Linked DNA regions of Homo sapiens: region 2 is linked to region 1. The links are contacts of gene promoters, found by promoter capture Hi-C in blood cells and fetal thymus (Javierre and others, 2016). All regions are on one chromosome and are shown on one strand. Each heading gives the region's core, a stretch centred on a gene start or on the middle of the fragment in contact. The rest is flanking DNA. Distances are from core to core; before and after follow the strand shown. Region 1 holds the start of NFKB2 (nuclear factor kappa B subunit 2). Region 2 overlaps LDB1 (LIM domain binding 1).

Region 1 (5,112 bases), core at 103-2,602:
AGTGAGCCTGTCCCCTCTCAGGGGCGCGCCCGAGTCGCTCCGGGTTGGCTGCGCCAGTCCAGAGTTAAACTTTCAGCCAATGAAAAAGGGCGCGAGGCGTGACGCACGGAAACGTCATGGGAATTCCCCCCTCCGGGGGGCCGAGAAGGGGCTTTCCCGGCCCTGAGCCCTGCTGGCAGGCGAGGTGTCGCGACCGGTCCCAGGTGGGTCGGGCGCGGAGAGAAGCCGCAACCAGAGCCGCCGCCACGGTGAGTGGCTGGATTCAGACCCCTGGGTGGCCGGGACAAGAGAAAAGAGGGAGGAGGGCCTTTAGCGGACAGCGCCTGGGGCTGGAGAGCAGCAGCTGCACACAGCCGGAAAGGGCGCGCAGGCGACGACACTCGGATCCACGTCGACACCGTTGTACAAAGATACGCGGACCCGTACGTACACCTGTACCTGTGCTGGCGCACACACGGCAGCGTCCGTGCAGTCGCACTCGCACACACATGCACACGGAGACGTGCCCACCGGTGCACTGGTGCCTGCACCCACACCCTTCACGCACAAACTCAAGATACGCTCACCCGTGTCCGTACATCAAGACAGGCGCTGACACACACCCACACTGAGAAGCTCGGGATTCACCTATCTACACACATGCTCGCTTGCACACTCATGTTGACGCCATGGACACACAACATGCAACCAAGCACTACAGCCGAAACACACTTGTGGAGCTGTGATGGAGACACACTCTTGTATTAGGTGGGGGGGGGGGGGGGGGAGCGTGCAGAGATCTCCCTGTCGCCTGCGCGCCCAGAACCGGTGCGGTGTGGGACCAGCTGCTGTTGTGAGGTTTGGGAGAGAGAGAAAAGAGCCCACTCCGAGGAGGAGACACTTTTCCCGCAGCCCCAGAATCGCGTTCTCGGGGCAGAACCCCGGGGCCTCCCACAGGAAAGAGCCCCCGCCTACAGGCTGTTCGAAGGGGAGGCCGTCCGACAGCAGGAATGTCCCCCCAAAAGCCCCCGGGGTTTATCAGCCGTGGCCTCCCTCCTGGCAGAAAATCCCAAGGTTGCTCCAGACCGGGGGAGGGGAGCGGGAGGCGGACTTGGCCCCAGACTGCCAGCCTCCTCCCGGCCGTGAAAGACCCTCCTGTTCCCTGCCCTGGAGGGAGGAGGGGGCTTAACCCCCACCGGGGCTTCCCGGATTCTCCTAGACCTCTGCCCGCTGAAAAGCAGCGGGAGCCCGTAGACTGTCGAGGGCCTCCCGCCCCTCCCGTCGCGAGGGCGGGGCCAGTGGCGTCATTTCCAGGCCCGCCCCCTCCGGCCCCGCCTCCCCTTGGTATTTTCGGGACTTTCCTAAGCTGCTCTAACTTTCCTGCCCCTTCCCCGGCCAAGCCCAACTCCGGATCTCGCTCTCCACCGGATCTCACCCGCCACACCCGGACAGGCGGCTGGAGGAGGTCGGACCCTCCCCCAAATCTGGGCCCCCATCTCCCGCCCACCCCCATTTAGATCTGACCCCCTCCCCCACGCCACTCCTCCCAACTTTAGGCGGGCGTCTAAAATTCTGGGAAGCAGAACCTGGCCGGAGCCACTAGACAGAGCCGGGCCTAGCCCAGAGACATGGAGAGTTGCTACAACCCAGTGAGTCATGCCGCCTGCCCCTGACCCGGCCGGCTGCCCCTCGTGTCTGTCCACCTGTCTGCCCGAGCCCCCTCTGCTGCCTTACACCTGTATGCTCGCAGATGCTCTCAGCCTGCCAGTCTGTCCATCTGTCTGCAACTCTGCCTCCAAAAGGAGCTTTCTCTTGGGTCTGAGGAGGAGGGGGGAGTGACCACTGAAGACTTGGAGATGGGAGGTGGGGCTGTGGGGGGTGCTGAGAGTCGGATGCCACCCCCAGTCTGTCTCCAAACCAGGGTCTGGATGGTATTATTGAATATGATGATTTCAAATTGAACTCCTCCATTGTGGAACCCAAGGAGCCAGCCCCAGAAACAGGTCAGCAAGTTCACTAACCTCCCCTAGTCCTAAAGCGGGGGAGGGAGAGCATGTGCCCTCTCTCTGGGGGAGGGGCTGGGAGATCGTGGCTCAGCAAGGTCTCTCTGTCCCCAGCTGATGGCCCCTACCTGGTGATCGTGGAACAGCCTAAGCAGGTGAGTGAGCAAAAGGGAGGGTGTGGAATGGCTTCAGCTTTGGGGACAAATGGGGTAGTGGTAGCTGGCTGGCCATGGAGGAGCCATTGCCGAAGGAGGCCACAGGGGATTGGATGGTCACTGCTGCTGATCAGAGTGCTGTAGTTTGGTTCAGGGCTACTACCAGGCACTGCGGTCACTGCTGGCCTGGGTGGTCTTCCCTGATCACAATGCTACTATGCCCTTGGACCTTCAGAGAGGCTTCCGATTTCGATATGGCTGTGAAGGCCCCTCCCATGGAGGACTGCCCGGTGCCTCCAGTGAGAAGGGCCGAAAGACCTATCCCACTGTCAAGGTGAGCCAGGATGGTGCTGGAGGGTGGGCTAAGTGGACAGCATGCCCAAGGCCCTGACTGACAGTCCCTGCCTCTCCTAGATCTGTAACTACGAGGGACCAGCCAAGATCGAGGTGGACCTGGTAACACACAGTGACCCACCTCGTGCTCATGCCCACAGTCTGGTGGGCAAGCAATGCTCGGAGCTGGGGATCTGCGCCGTTTCTGTGGGGCCCAAGGACATGACTGCCCAGTAGGTGCCCTCTACGCCTGGCCCCCACTGGTATGCCCGTCTGCCAGTCCCAGGCCCCAGCCCACCTCCATGAGCTTAGCATCTGACCAAGGGGAAAGATGTAGGTTGGCCCCAAACCCAAGGGCCTAAGTAGAAACTCCAATGGCTTCCTTGAGGAAGTAAGGCTGAGCTGAGCCCTGGCAATGGGAAAGGTGCCTCAGGAAGAAAGAACTGCATGGCCAAAGGCCTCCGATTCTCTCTTCTCAGATTTAACAACCTGGGTGTCCTGCATGTGACTAAGAAGAACATGATGGGGACTATGATACAAAAACTTCAGAGGCAGCGGCTCCGCTCTAGGCCCCAGGGCCTTACGGGTATGGGTGCAGGGGGTGGGTCGGGTATGGGTGCAGGGGGTGGGTGGGTCATGGGAGGTGCTCATGGAAGGAGCAGGGAGGGAGAAGCCCAGGGGTCACACATGTACCTACTGCCCAGAGGCCGAGCAGCGGGAGCTGGAGCAAGAGGCCAAAGAACTGAAGAAGGTGATGGATCTGAGTATAGTGCGGCTGCGCTTCTCTGCCTTCCTTAGAGCCAGTGATGGCTCCTTCTCCCTGCCCCTGAAGCCAGTCATCTCCCAGCCCATCCATGACAGCAGTGAGTATCCTGATTGCCTGGGGTGCCAGGCCTGGTGGCAGAGGTGGCATGAGGGGTGACCTCAAGCTGTGCAGTCAAACAGACCCAGGTTTCAGAACCTGGCCCTGCCACATATGAGCTGAGTGATCCTGAGCAAGTCATTTCCCCCCCGAAGCTTCTGTCTTTAGTAAATGTGTATATTGGGTGTTTCCTGCAGCTCCAGGGGTTGCTGAGATAAGGAATACAAAGCCCCCAGCTTCTTAAATGTGGCCTTGGCTATTGCATCATCTCAACTAATCCATATCCCACTCCATAGAATCTCCGGGGGCATCAAACCTGAAGATTTCTCGAATGGACAAGACAGCAGGCTCTGTGCGGGGTGGAGATGAAGTTTATCTGCTTTGTGACAAGGTGCAGAAAGGTGAGACTGGAGCCCACTTTGGGCACCAAGGACATCGAGTATAAGACTGGGGCCAGGGAAGCTCTAGGGTAAATGGCCCCAGAGATTCCACCGGGAGCTGTGGCCAAGCTTCCGTTTTCCTTGTAGATGACATTGAGGTTCGGTTCTATGAGGATGATGAGAATGGATGGCAGGCCTTTGGGGACTTCTCTCCCACAGATGTGCATAAACAGGTACCCAGGGCTAGGGCCCGGGCCCGGGCTGGGGGCTAAATTAGGCTAAGGACTCACTGACACCCTGTGTCTCCCTGCACCCCCCAGTATGCCATTGTGTTCCGGACACCCCCCTATCACAAGATGAAGATTGAGCGGCCTGTAACAGTGTTTCTGCAACTGAAACGCAAGCGAGGAGGGGACGTGTCTGATTCCAAACAGTTCACCTATTACCCTCTGGTGGAAGGTGGAGCTGGGCTGAGGACCTCAGGGTGCTGGCGGGGGGCCAGGCTGGGCTAGAAGAAGGTCCCAAGAGCTAGATGTGGGGATGCATGAGCCAAGTCAGAAGTGCGAGGGTCCCAGGAGGTGCTTCCTAGGAGCCGGCCCTGAGGGCTCTTCTGGGAAGGGCCCCTGAGGCATGACACAATAACTGGGCTCAATCTCATTTTCCTCTGCCCCCAGACAAGGAAGAGGTGCAGCGGAAGCGGAGGAAGGCCTTGCCCACCTTCTCCCAGCCCTTCGGGGGTGGCTCCCACATGGGTGGAGGCTCTGGGGGTGCAGCCGGGGGCTACGGAGGAGCTGGAGGAGGTGAGGGGGTACTGATGGAGGGAGGGGTAAAGGTAAGAGAAGCTGTGGAGGAAAAAAATCTGGGGGAGGCCGGGCGTGGTGGCTCACGCCTGTAATCCAGCCCTTTGGGAGGCCAAGGCAGGCAGATTACCTGAGATCAGGAGTTCAAGACCAGCTTGGCCAACAGCGTGAAACCTCGTCTCTACTAAAAATACAAACATTAGCTGGGCATGGTGGCAGGCGCCTGTAATCCCAGCTACTCGGGAGGCTGAGGCAGGAGAATCGCTTGAACCCTGGGAGACAAGAGGTTGCAGTAAGCTGAGATCACACCACTGCACTCCAGGCTGGGCAATAAGAGCGAAACTCCGTCTCAAAAAAAAAAAAAAAAAATCTGGGAGAGTCATGGCTGGTGCCCGCTTCCCACAGCCCTGCCTGTATCCACAGGTGGCAGCCTCGGTTTCTTCCCCTCCTCCCTGGCCTACAGCCCCTACCAGTCCGGCGCGGGCCCCATGGGCTGCTACCCGGGAGGCGGGGGCGGGGCGCAGATGGCCGCCACGGTGCCCAGCAGGGACTCCGGGGAGGAAGCCGCGGAGCCAAGCGCCCCCTCCAGGACCCCCCAGT
Region 2 (5,210 bases), core at 368-2,867, 280 kb before region 1:
CCTTGGGTCCCTAAAACTCGACTGCATTTGGAAGGGTAGCTAGATTGGCTGTATCTAGATCTCCTCCCCAACTTAGATACAAAACCTATTTTGTTTCTTTGGGGGGAAGAGACAAAAGAAGACCCTGTGCCAACATGTGTCATTTAATTCTCTCCCCAGAGCCCTGTCCTCACAATGCAGGCAAAAGGAGGGTCCCAGACTGCACAGTCTCTGAAGATGCCAAGTCAGAGCCTGTGTGTGCCTGCACACACGTGTGCCTCATCCTGCCTAGCAGGCTTTCACCCTCAGCTCGCCCTAACATGCCTATCAAGGGCTGGAACCCAGCAGCCCCAGGCAGATTCAGATGCCCGCAACAGGCCCTCACCCCATGCACGAGCTCTCACGGGCCACATCCATATGCTCCAAGAACAGCACACACAGCCTTCACATGCCAGTCTGGACTGAGCCTGTGTCTCCAGAAAGACAGTCCCCACCCAGCCACCAAGTCTCCCCAATCCACAGACAGGCAGACTAAGGCCACACAGGAAGCCCAAACTCACACAGCCCACCAGAGGCCAGGCCTGGGCAATAAACCCAAGAGTAGATTCTCAGACCTGGCCCTCATCCCCCAACTAGGCCATCCTTTCTCCCATAGCTTAACCACCCCTGCCTCCTCAGTTTCCGGGCCACTTGAAATGTGTTAGCTCAAGAACCTGAAGAGACAGGAGGCAGGACGCCTGGGTTTCTCTCCAATTTTGTAAAAAAAAAAAAAAAAAAACTCTCAGAGCCTCCATTTCTCTCTCTAGAGAATGAACAGGCATTGTCTAGGCCTGGGTAAATAGCTCTGAGGAGCTAGAGCCCAAAGCTCTGGGCCTCTATTTACACCTCCAGTGAATGGACACAAACTCAGCATCTCTCCAGAGCCACAACTCCCAGTGGCTCCAGCACAAGGGCTTGGGAGTGAGTAGAGAAGGGGAGGGACATCACCCAGACCATCTGTCCCTGTTGCTGCCTGTCCCCAGCAGCAGGAGTAGAGGCAGCAAGGTGGGGGGACGGAGGAGATGTGTCATCCAGCCCTGGAGTCAGCCATAGCCCCCCTCCCACCTCTAGCAAATTGGAAGCCTTTAGGAAGGGGGAGAGAAGAGCCCAGAACTAGTAAAGTTTTCTCAGGGTGGAAGCTGCATCCCGGGGCTGAGGGGGGCACCTCCAGCTGGGTATTGCCATGGTAACCAGGCTGACTCGAGGGCAGGCCTCCTCCCTTTAGGGACTGGCCACAGGTCAGCAGGCCTGAGCGCCCCGGCGGCTCTGGGCTGGGGCACCTCTCCCCCAGCCCGCAGATCAGGCCCGGGCCGGGCTGAGGGCCTTCCGCCCACCCCCAACAGGCTCGCAGGGTGCCCAGACTTACCTGGGAGAACTGAGGGGGCCAGGAGAGGTACGGGGGAGCGACTGCAAGCCCAGAGGAGTCCTGGCAGGGGTGAGGGCTGACGGGGGGACAACTTCAGCAGCTCATGTCCCGAGTGGGACGGGCAGGCCCGACTGGGAGCTCCAGTCCGCCGGCCGCACAAAGACTCGCACGCACTGCCTCGGCCCGCCCCGCGGCGGCCGCTGTCCCGGGGGAAAGTTACAATGGCCACTGGGCCGGGGGCCGGGGGCCAGGGGGCCGGCCTGGGGGGCGGGGGGCCGCGGGGAGTCCGGAGCCTTCTTTGTTTGCAAGGTTTCCCTCAACAATGGCTGCTCCGCTCTTTCCTCTCTCCTCCTCCTCCTTCTCGGCTCTCCCCGCCGCCGCCTCTTGCTGCCTCTGCCTCCGAGCAGCCCGCCCGCCCTCCCCAGGCCACCGGGCCCCTCTGCTGGGGGCACCAGGAGAGGCAGGACCCGGCACTCACACTCACTCACACTCGCACACTCAAACACACACGCAGCGCCCGCCGGCTGCCTGCCTTTCTCCCTTTCTCTCCCTGCCTCCCTCCCTCCCCGCTCGCTCTCTCCGAGCCTCTCTCAGAATGAGGCCCCAGGGCGGGCGGAGGGTGGAGCTGCCCCCACCGGCCCCGCCCCCTCCCTGAGAGGAAAGAGGAAGAGCAAGGGAGGGAGGGAGGCTGGGACGGAGGGACTGCTGAGAAAAACAAAAGAGAGACAGAGACTGGGAGAGACAGGGGACGGATCAGATTGGGCCAGGAGAGACCTGGATGGAGGAGAGGCCTGTGGGGGCCAGGAACGAAATGCAGCCCGCCTCCCCCGAGCCCCAGGCACGGTGCTCAGGAGTGAGCAGGTGGGCCAAAGCCACTGGCAGAGATGGAGGAGGGCGGGCTCCTCTCTGCAGACTCCAAGATCTTCAAAGCACCTCCCAAACCTCCCCCAAATCTTTCTCGCCCCTGTGATCGCTCAGGTTGAAGGCTGGCCCGGACTGCCAGCCTGGGCTCCCCTGGTGAAATCCTGGAGCAGCTGGGGGGAGAGGCTCCAGGGGGTTATTTTTGACAGACACACATTCTGACATCAGACTGTAAACACTGATTGGAGGAAGGGGGACACTCCAGGCTTCCCTGCCCCCAACCCAGCTAAATTCCAAGCCTTGACTTAGATCCCCCTTAACAGGAAGCCCCCTTCCCCACCACCACTGAAGACAAGTGGGTGCCAGGGAAAGAGGCATTGTCAGAGCTAGGGAAAGCCAACTTGGCCATCCAAGGGTCCCCAGAAGGAGCTTAGTTTGCTGCTGAATCCTCCCCACCACCCCAGAAAAAAAAACGTGTGGTTAGTGGATAGGACCTGTTCTCCCATCCAGCAGGGCATCCCAAGGGAGCAGATATTTCTATTTTTTTTCCTAAGGTAATTTTGTTGTAGCAGGAGGGAATATTTCTAAAACTTGGGTAGTGGGCCAGACCTTACTCGTGGACAAATAGGAAAAGGAAAATACATAGTACACACACACACACACAAACACACACACACACACGGGAAGGGGGAGCACGAACCTTCTATTTCCTTCTTTGCAATTTGAGTGTCTGTTTCTCTACTTCCTGTCTCCTACCCCCAACTATATTCACACATAACTCCAAGGACAGGATTTCTTATGACATACTCACTAGTTAACTGTGCAGTAATATTGCACCTGGCTCTGTGAACATCTTCCACATAAATAACACATCTCACTTTCACATAAATCACTACCTGATACACATTTCAACCTGTGATATATCTTTTTTCCAAGACGGAGTCTCGCTCTGTTGCTTAGGCTGGAGTGCAGTGGCGCGATCTCGGCTCACTGCAACCTCCAGCTCCTGGGTTCAAGCGATTCTCCTGCCTCAGCCTCCTGAGTAGCTGAGATTACAGGTGCATGCCACCACACCCAGCTAATTTTTGTATTTTTAGTAGAGACAGGTTTCACTATGTTGGCCAGGCTGGTCTCGAACGCCTGACCTCAGGTGATCCACCCACCTTGGCCTCCCAAAGTGCTAGTATTACAGATGTGAGCCACCGCGTCTGGCCATCAACCTGTGATATATCTCAAATCCTAAATATACCCAAATCCTGGATATATACACACACACACAGTCTAAGTCATACACACTGGGACCTATGACACGCATCCTGACCTCAATACACACACCAAAACTGTGTTATAACCCCTAAACCTGTGACAGCCTATCACATACACACCCCGATCATTTATTATGCAAGGACTTAACCTATAAATCACCCTCTCTGAAGCCTGCGTACCATTCCTCATCACAGCCTGGCCATAGAATAAACCCCAGCTTTCACAAACATACTGAAATCTATAACATTCAGCCAGACCCTGCAACATACAGCCTATCACCAGGACTTAAGACACTCCCACTGACTCCCAAATTTACAGCTTAACTCTGGGGTAGTCCCACTTCTCCCCCACTGCCTTTAAACTTTCCAAAGTGCATTCACAGGCAGTACCTCAAGAGATCCTCATAGCACATAGGGCCAAATATCCTAACAGTGAGATCCTAACAGAACCCACTGAGACAGGATGACCAGGGTGGGCTGGGGGGTGGGGGGGTTGAACCCTGCACTTCTAAACCCACCAGATACAAGCCAAGCCCTGCAGCCATTCCTACTCCCTTCCCCCTCCAGGCCTCAAATCACTGTCCTCATGGGGAGGGGGAAATGTGCTCTGGCTTTTGCCTCCAGCCCAGAGCTCAGAACCCCACACCCACCCTGTCTCCTCAGACAGGAGGGACTACAAGGGCCCTCCAGTCTCGCTGTGGGGTGGAGGGGCCCCTAAATGCCAAGATGTATCGACTGGCAAACCATTCAAAACAGGCCTTCTAGTTATTCTCTAGCAAGTCTGCTCCTTTCTCTGCTCTGACCAGATTTACCCAGTTGCACAGGGGCAGAACAGGTCCAGCTAAAAAGAGCAAGTCTGAGTTAGAAGGCCTTAGAATTGGTGGTGAGGTGGAGGGAGCAGCAAATAATGACAAAGATGATGAGGGAAAGTACTCCTCCTGGAGGTGGGGACTCAAAGGACAGCAGCCAGCCCCAGCCCACAGGATGAGGTACCAGCACTGCCCCCTGCCCGGGCCCCTGGGGCTCCCTGACCCAGGCCTCCAGTGTGCCTGCCCCCCTTCCTTTGTCTGTGCCCGGCCTCCCGTTGGCCTGGCGCTCTGCCATCCTCCTCTCCTGGCTCCCAGCCGCCACCACTGCTGCCTCCTCCCCTCCCCCTACTCCTCCCTGCCTTAACCCTTCTGAGCCACATGCTGCCCCAGACAGGCCCTGGCCCCCTCAGCCTCTTGCTCAGGGTGATGCCCCTTAGTCAGAGGCTCTCCCTGCTCCCAGCCATTCCAGCCCCAGAAGCTGGTCCTCACCCCAGGAGCAATATGGGTGTTGGGCATGTGTATGTGTGTATCTTGTGGTGCTTCTGCGTGTGCATGTGTGTGGGTCTGTGTGCGCTCTGGCTTCCCTCAGTCACATGTGTGGGGCATGTGCTGTCTCTGCCGGGCTGGGGGAGGAGGAGGAGCCCGGAGACAGCAGAACACAAAGGAGAGACTCAGACAGGCAGGCAGGCAGGCGGCAGGCGGCCTGCCAGGGCGCCTCAGCCCTCACCCCAGGGCTGCTCAAGGTGGGGGAAATCTTTGGGCCTGGACTGCTACATGCTGCCATGCCTTCCTTGTGTTCAAGCATGTGCTCCCCCATCCAAGCAAGCTGCAAGCCAGGTCCCCTCTCTAACCTCAACTGCTACTATTCCCCACCTCCAGTCTACTCTGAAG

Evidence for each region. The method cuts DNA at HindIII sites, captures the fragments that hold promoters and counts their contacts. A CHiCAGO score of 5 or more calls a contact.
Region 2: a fragment that was not itself captured here is called in contact with the fragment with the promoter of NFKB2 in region 1 in 2 of 17 cell types (M1 macrophages and activated CD4 T cells); the score reaches 6.6 in M1 macrophages.

Annotation. Positions count from the first base shown.
Region 1 is chr10:102,394,353-102,399,464 of GRCh38, forward strand. It overlaps NFKB2 (nuclear factor kappa B subunit 2), which reads left to right and starts at 1,353. Exons shown (of 23, transcript NM_001322934.2): 1 at 1,353-1,444; 2 at 1,536-1,628; 3 at 1,901-1,982; 4 at 2,097-2,137; 5 at 2,373-2,471; 6 at 2,552-2,703; 7 at 2,950-3,056; 8 at 3,175-3,333; 9 at 3,629-3,733; 10 at 3,860-3,945; 11 at 4,033-4,171; 12 at 4,387-4,512; 13 at 4,936-5,112. The coding sequence starts at 1,608. RefSeq lists silencers at 1-18, 4,929-5,112 and enhancers at 29-318, 1,369-1,418, 1,829-1,948, 3,420-3,714. The HindIII fragment of the contact is 5,152 bases long and covers 1-3,485 here.
Region 2 is chr10:102,113,022-102,118,231 of GRCh38, forward strand. The region is part of intron 1 of LDB1 (LIM domain binding 1); the gene reads right to left. Among named protein-coding and RNA genes, the nearest start is that of LDB1, 4.7 kb to the right of the region's middle. RefSeq lists silencers at 1,333-1,422, 1,473-1,622, 1,643-1,792, 1,903-2,112, 4,414-4,653 and enhancers at 4,123-4,825, 4,826-5,210. The HindIII fragment of the contact is 8,794 bases long and covers 1-5,210 here.